2 separate regions of the Homo sapiens genome follow, and region 1 is linked to region 2. Evidence: promoter capture Hi-C in human tissues and cell types (Jung and others, 2019). All regions are on one chromosome and are shown on one strand. Each heading gives the region's core, a stretch centred on a gene start or on the middle of the fragment in contact. The rest is flanking DNA. Distances are from core to core; before and after follow the strand shown.

Region 1 (3,264 bases), core at 2-2,501, 1.1 Mb after region 2:
CATTGGCCTTTCCTGTAACTCCTTCCATCAGAAGTCTTCCCATCCTTCCAGATTCAGGCCTACTTCAGCATTTTCTATACAGCACTTTCGGTCTGCAAGCCCAGCTAACCTCCTTCATTAGGCCTGTAATGCACATCACGCCACAGGGTTCATGCACTGTTTGGAAATATTTGATCATTTTTTCATGCATCTTGTCTCCCCAGGGACAGGGGTTGGGTCTTATGCTTTCTTCTTATGCTTTCTTCTATATACTGTGTGGTCAACACATATGTGCTGATTTATTAAATATTACATTAAAAATAGTGTCTTAAAAATTTAGATCAAGGCTGGGTGTGGTGGCTCATGCTTGTAATATCAGCACTTTGGGAGGTCAAGGTGGGCAGATCACTTGAGGTCAGGAGTTCAAGACCAGCCTGGCCAACATGGTGAAACCCCATCTCTACTAAAAATACAAAAATTAGCTGGCCATGGTGGTGGACACCTGTAATCCCAGCTACTCGGGAGGCTGAGGCAGGAGAATCGTTTGAACCCAGAAGGCAGAGGTTGCAGTGAGCTGAGATTGGGCCATTGTACTCCAGCCTAGGTGACAGAGCAAGACTCCGTCTCAGGGAAAAGAAAAAAAAAAATTAAGATCAGCTTTCCTTTTGCCTGATGAGGGCACATTTCTCCAGGGACTGGTCACCCAGTCTTCAGGCACCATGGTGGCAGCAGACCAGCTAAACCTTGGCTCTGTTAAAATGATCTTGCTTGGTATATGGAAAACACATACCAAAAACGTGGCACATTTTTAAATGATAGAAATTAAAAATGACAACTTAAGAAAGTTTGTGGTATCAATTTAAGGTTCTGTTATTGCAAACTTAATTAAACTTAATAATTAATTCATTCACTTACTGAATCAAAGGAACCTTAGAAATTGCTAGATGAAACAGCCATTTCTTAAGAGACCCAGAGAAGTTAATTTGCCCATTAGTCCAATTGGAGAAATAGTGATATGCAGCAATCTGTAGCACCAAAGTCTCCTTATAGATCACACAGGGCTCTTTCCCTAATAATATGAAATTTGCATATCTTTAAAAAAGATATTTACCAGTACAAAATAGGTGTCATGGGGAAAGCTTAAATGAAGTAAGCAAATTTGTTATTTTAAAGTATTTTAACGTCATCCTTTTGTTTGCAACACATTTAATTGGTAATTCGAAATGAGTAGTTTCTATTTCCAAAATACAAAGATAAAAGGGCATCTATTTGGTAAAGTATTTGTCAGTAGTTCAAACTATGTCAAAGAATTAGAAATAAGAAAATAAACATTTTTTTCCTGAAAAGTATCTTTTTTTTTAGAAAAAAAATCCTTTTTTCAGTATTCACAATTCAATCTGATTACCACTGTCAATTCAAATTAAGGCACATTTTAGTGTATCCTAAAAATATAGTAATTCTACTAAGTTTGTATTTTAAAAATAACACAGATTTATAGATTCTGCCTACAACATCAAAGAGCATTGGATGTGAAAAGTATTTTTGCTGTTAATATGAGAATTAGGAACTACTCAGGGAGGCCACTGATAGTAGTGAGTGAAAAATGCCCCTCCAAGAGTAAAAGAACTGAGTCTCTGCTGCCAGTTAAAAGCGATAGATATAGTCTGCTGATGCATTAGTTCACGTTAGACTTTTTTTTTTTTTTTTTTTTTTTTTTGAGACAGAGTCTTGCTCTGTTGCTCAGGCTGGAGTTCAGTGGCACAATCTCGGCTCACTGCAAGCTCTGCCTCCCAGGTTCACGCTATTCTCCTGTCAGCCTCCTGAGTAGCTGGGACTACAGGCGCCCACCACAACGCCCGGCTAATTTTTTTGTATTTTTAGTAGAGACGGGGTTTCCCCGTGTTAGCCAGGATGGTCTTGATCTCCTGACCTCATGATCCTCCTGCCTCGGCCTCCCAAAGTGCTAGTATTACAGGCGTGAGCCACTGCGCCCGGCCCACTTGAGACTTTTTATCTCCAGGGGAATAGCCAGGCAAGCAACATCTGAAACTCCATAAATGCCTCATGAATGCGCCTGAATATGAGGAAAAATTCCATTGAACACTTAAGCTTAAATGGGAATTTTCATAGGCTGTGAGTTAAAAGCTAAGCAGTGCTGGGTGGAGATGTGCCTAGTAATCCCCTTCAAAGGAACCAAGTTATCTTTAAGCTATGAAGCAGCGCTAACACACAGAAGAATGCAGCTAATCTAATGAAACTGTTTTATGTTTTTTTATAATTTGCCATTCAATTCACTTCAACACATGTTTGTGTACTAGGAGTTGGGGAACTAGTGAGCAAGGCAGATACAGTTCCTGCCGTCACAGGATCCTCAGTGGACTCCATTGGTACAGGCAGGTCACAAACACATGTTTATACAAATTCGCTATACACACTGTGGCACATGCTATGCTCAAAAGAACATAGCTCTGTTTGGACCTAGGGGTTGGTAGTAAGGATGGAGAAGCAGATAGGTCCTTGACACATTTAAGAGGTCCCAGTGGTACCCGGGATGATGGAGGTGACAAGGAAGGAGTGTAAGGAATGACTCGCAGGTTTATGCTTGACCATGGAAGTGGGTGGCAGGCAGTACCATTTTCTGAGATGAGGAGGGCTGGGGGAAAACAAGTTTCAGGGGACAGGGCAAATAAGGAGTCCAGTTTTAAGCAGAAGCAGGTTGATATAATTGTATGAAATCTGGGTGAAGCTGTCAAGCAGGGAATTGGATACAGGATGATGGTACAGAAGGCAGACAAGGACAGGGACAGCATTTAAAACCATAGGAATGGAGAGACCAAACCAGGGAGAAAGTACAGAGAGAGAGCAAAGAGAGTTCAGACAGCCTGGAAGATCTTCAAAATTTGGAGAAGGAGAAACTAGCAACTGAAATCAGAAAGGACTAGTTATTGGAGCAGGAGGAAAAGCAGAGGAGTGTAGTTATAAAGTCAAGGAAATAAGACTGTTTTGGGAAGGAGGGAAAGGCTAATTATACTATATGCCACTAAAGAGTTTGAAAAGAAGGCTCAATGGATAGTAATTACTACTAATTCTAGAGTATAATCAATAACTACCCATGAAAATGGTGACTTATAAGCCTCAGTGAAACATTTTTTTCTACAATTCTCTTCTGGTCTAGCTATCTTAGCACCTTTTAGATATCAATCCATGAATTTCTATAAGTGTCAAAGCAGAAGGAGATGAATAACTTATTCTTTACCTTGTCAAAATGACATATATAAGATAAGA
Region 2 (3,276 bases), core at 631-3,130:
CTCATCAAACCATGCCAGTTCTACCTCCTTAATAACTGTAGCTTAACACCTGAATAACTGAACAAAAACTTACAATTTAACTCTCTTAACACTTATCTACCTCAATTTTATTTTTATAATTTATACATAATCTATAATTATTTTTATATAATTGGCACAGTGATAATTCCAGATAAAACTCACTGAATTTCTATTTCCATCCTTGCCAATGATACACACACACAATGTAATGCTGAGAGGGTTGGGAAGGAAGAATGGGAGAAAGGCAGAAGTTGACAGTTAAAAAAAAAAAGTTTCCAGATGGTTTTCTTAGTGTCATCTCTGCAACCTCATCAAATAAGGGTCCAAAATTTATGTTACAACATTTGTTTGATGCCTTATTTAAATTGCTTTACTGGACATTTTCCATCTGTTAAGCTCTCTGAAAGAAACAAAATTGCCTTGTCATAGCTAGACCTCATGATCCTATACACTTACAACGGGCAGACTTTGCAGGGGCCCACACCTTTCAAGGTGGTTTGGGAAAATGACACAGAAAAGTTTTACATCAGCTGAAAAGAAAAATGCATAACTCATTTTGGTAATTTCAGTTTTAATTCTTAATAGGATAAAGGAAACATGCACATTATAAATCAATGCTCTGTGTTAACAAATAATCAAGTAAGCAGAGTTGCAAGTATTGGCTAAAATGAATTTTGGATATTTTTAGCTACCAAATTTCTCGAGGCAAGGCAGACATACATCTGGACCTGAATATCTGCATTATTAGGGAATTTTTGTTTGTTTGTTTTATATTGTTTTGTTATTTTTAAAAGTAGGTGCCAAATTAGGTCACCTGCTGTCTGGGCAATGTTATTTTTTGCCATAACCACAAATTGAAGAAAATTGACTGCTCTTTTTCCTTAGTCAACATGCTGTGCTTCCAGCCCCAAACATCTTTGAGAAGTTGTTTAGATTCATGAGCAATGCCTCTGTCCCCAACAGGCTAAGACATTAGGCAGGTCCCTGCACCTCTGGAGTCCTCAGTTCCCTGCAAAGTGAGGAAGCTAGACTAAGTAATCGTTAGGCTCCCTTCCAGACCGACCAATCTGATGGTATTAGATGCAATTGCTCCTGAATTAGGGCATGAAATGAATTCAGCTTTGGTGCACCAATGTGATGACTCTGCTTCATCAAAGCCTGAGCACGCGATAGGCCTAGCACCATCTCACACAGAGACAAAGGGCAACCCTCTGCTTCCAAAGGAATGACACAACCTGTTTCTGAAGTGATTCACATCATCTTTACTTTTGAACAACCCAATGCTCAGAAAACAATCTAAGAATCTTCGCTGACTTTAGGGATGTAAGATACGGTTTCTTGACAGTATTTGGGATTGTGGAAAAAAGCAATTGAGGAAAGGGCATCTCCACAACGCAATATTGAATTTAGTGCCCAAGGTCCATCACAGGAATCCCTAACGATCCCTACAATCTCTCTCTCTCTCTTTTTTTTCTCTCTTTACCCTGAAAATAAACTGAGAAGTTAGTATTGGGATAACTATTCCCCTTGACCCAAATAAAAAGTCCTGGGCAAACACAGGTACAAATTGCCAAATGGAAAAAGTTCTTCTCCATCTTCAGCTAGAGGGAGGCTGGGGATCCCAGCTCTTTAGAAGCCGGCCCGTGGACGCCCAGAGAATCCCTTCGGAGACCAGGTCAGGGTCACTGAGCTTGCCCAGCAGGGCGCCGCCTCGGACGCCGCCCCGCCTCTCACCTTGCCAGCGCCGCGCTCGGGCCGCGAAGGTGCGTGCGGCGCTCGGTGATTGGCGGCGGCCCGGAGCTGCCCGGCTGCCATTGGCTGCCCGGCCCCCTTTGTTCCCGGGTCCGGGCCGCAGGCCCGCTGCGGCGGACTGGGCGGCGGAAGTTCGACGGCGCCGGGCGAGTGGCTGTTGAGCGGCGCCGCGGGAGTTCCGCAGGTTTCCCGTGTTCGCAGCGGAGCCGGAGGCCAGCTGAACCCGGCCGTGGGATCCCGGATAGGAGGAGGAGGGGACCCATAGGACGCGTTAACATGGACCTGGAAAACAAAGTGAAGAAGGTAGGGGGGCGCTCGTGGCGGGCGGCGGCTGCTTCACCTGCGCGGGTCGCGCGGCGCGCGGCGGCCGGAGGTGCCGAGGTGGGTGGGGCTCGCGGGCCCCCCGGTGTGAGCCCGGCTCTGGGTCTGCGGTGCCCCGGGCCCAGGGACCTGGCCCCCTGGGTAGAGGAGGTGCTCGGCGGCCCCGCCAGCTCCCCACACTCGGGAGCGACAGAATTGGAAGCGCGAGCGAGGGCGGGCGCGGGACTCTTCTCTCCAGTCTCACGGAATCCCAGTGGTTGTAGGTGTTGGAAACTTTACTTAAGATGTTTCAGCTCTGCCTGTGCCTCCTCAAAAGGAAAGGACGAGCTTAGGGCGAGTGCGGGCGAGACCGTGACACTTCCTGGCTCAGGAAGTTGAATTTCATTAAGCCTTTGTGGTTTGGGGCTCTGCTGTGCTTTGACAGCTCTGATCTCCTCCCTTCCGGCTGGGCTGTCTGGGGCGCTCTAAAATGAGTGTTGATTTAATGCACTGCCTTCGCACCCGTGCTGGTGATAACTTCTAATGTGATTTTTTTTTCGGTCATTCATTACTTGTCTACCGACCGAGGCAGTGCCTCCCTCTTAGGGAATTATCTGTCAAAGAGCGCATTCTCCTTGTTTGGCAGGTAGTCCCAAAGGGCGGTTGTCACCAGCGTCTCAGCGCAGGGAGACATTTTCAGCTTGGCTGCTGCCTCGCAGGCACTGGAACCGACGGCCCTACCTGAGCCACTCCCGGGTTATGCGGAGCCTGGTGTCGCCTGGGAGAAAAGGGTGGGGACCAGACTATGACTCAGAAGGAATGCTGATGTCACATTCGAGTGAATTGCCCTGTGCGAAAGTTCTCCTCGTTCCAGGGGATTTGCTCATGTTTTACTTTGTGGTAAATTTAAGCTAGCTGTCCCTTATCAAATAGAGAAGTTTTGCAGAGAGAGGAAGGGAAAAATACAGAAAACAGTTTTTGTTTTTCTCATACTCATGGTTCCTAATATTTTATCTTCTAAACACAAAGTTTTTGACTTGAGCATTAATTCTATTTTATGCCCAGAACTGGATTTTTGAAAATGGATACAAAATATTGTGTTAGGACTGCAGAGTTTTCGGTTAGGAAGCTATTGACCAATAAAAACTCGAAATGAGAAAACAGTTTTTTTCATTCCTTGCGACTAAAATTCTCAGGCACTCA

Evidence for each region. Contacts are between HindIII fragments. The study calls those that stand out against the background at their distance.
Region 1: a fragment that was not itself captured here is called in contact with the fragment with the promoter of TES in region 2 in 1 of the 25 tissues and cell types used here (dorsolateral prefrontal cortex).

What each region holds. Positions count from the first base shown.
Region 1 is chr7:117,287,382-117,290,645 of GRCh38, forward strand. The region is part of intron 4 of WNT2 (Wnt family member 2); the gene reads right to left. All of the region lies in intron 1 of LOC124900596 (a long non-coding RNA gene), which reads left to right. Among named protein-coding and RNA genes, the nearest start is that of WNT2, 34 kb to the right of the region's middle. The HindIII fragment of the contact is 3,972 bases long and covers 1-3,237 here.
Region 2 is chr7:116,208,659-116,211,934 of GRCh38, forward strand. TES (testin LIM domain protein) reads left to right here and starts at 1,881. Exons shown (of 7, transcript NM_015641.4): 1 at 1,881-2,076. The coding sequence starts at 2,050. RefSeq lists silencers at 1,600-1,729, 1,763-2,025, 1,780-1,979, 2,120-2,209 and an enhancer at 2,570-2,809. The HindIII fragment of the contact is 11,100 bases long and covers 1-3,276 here.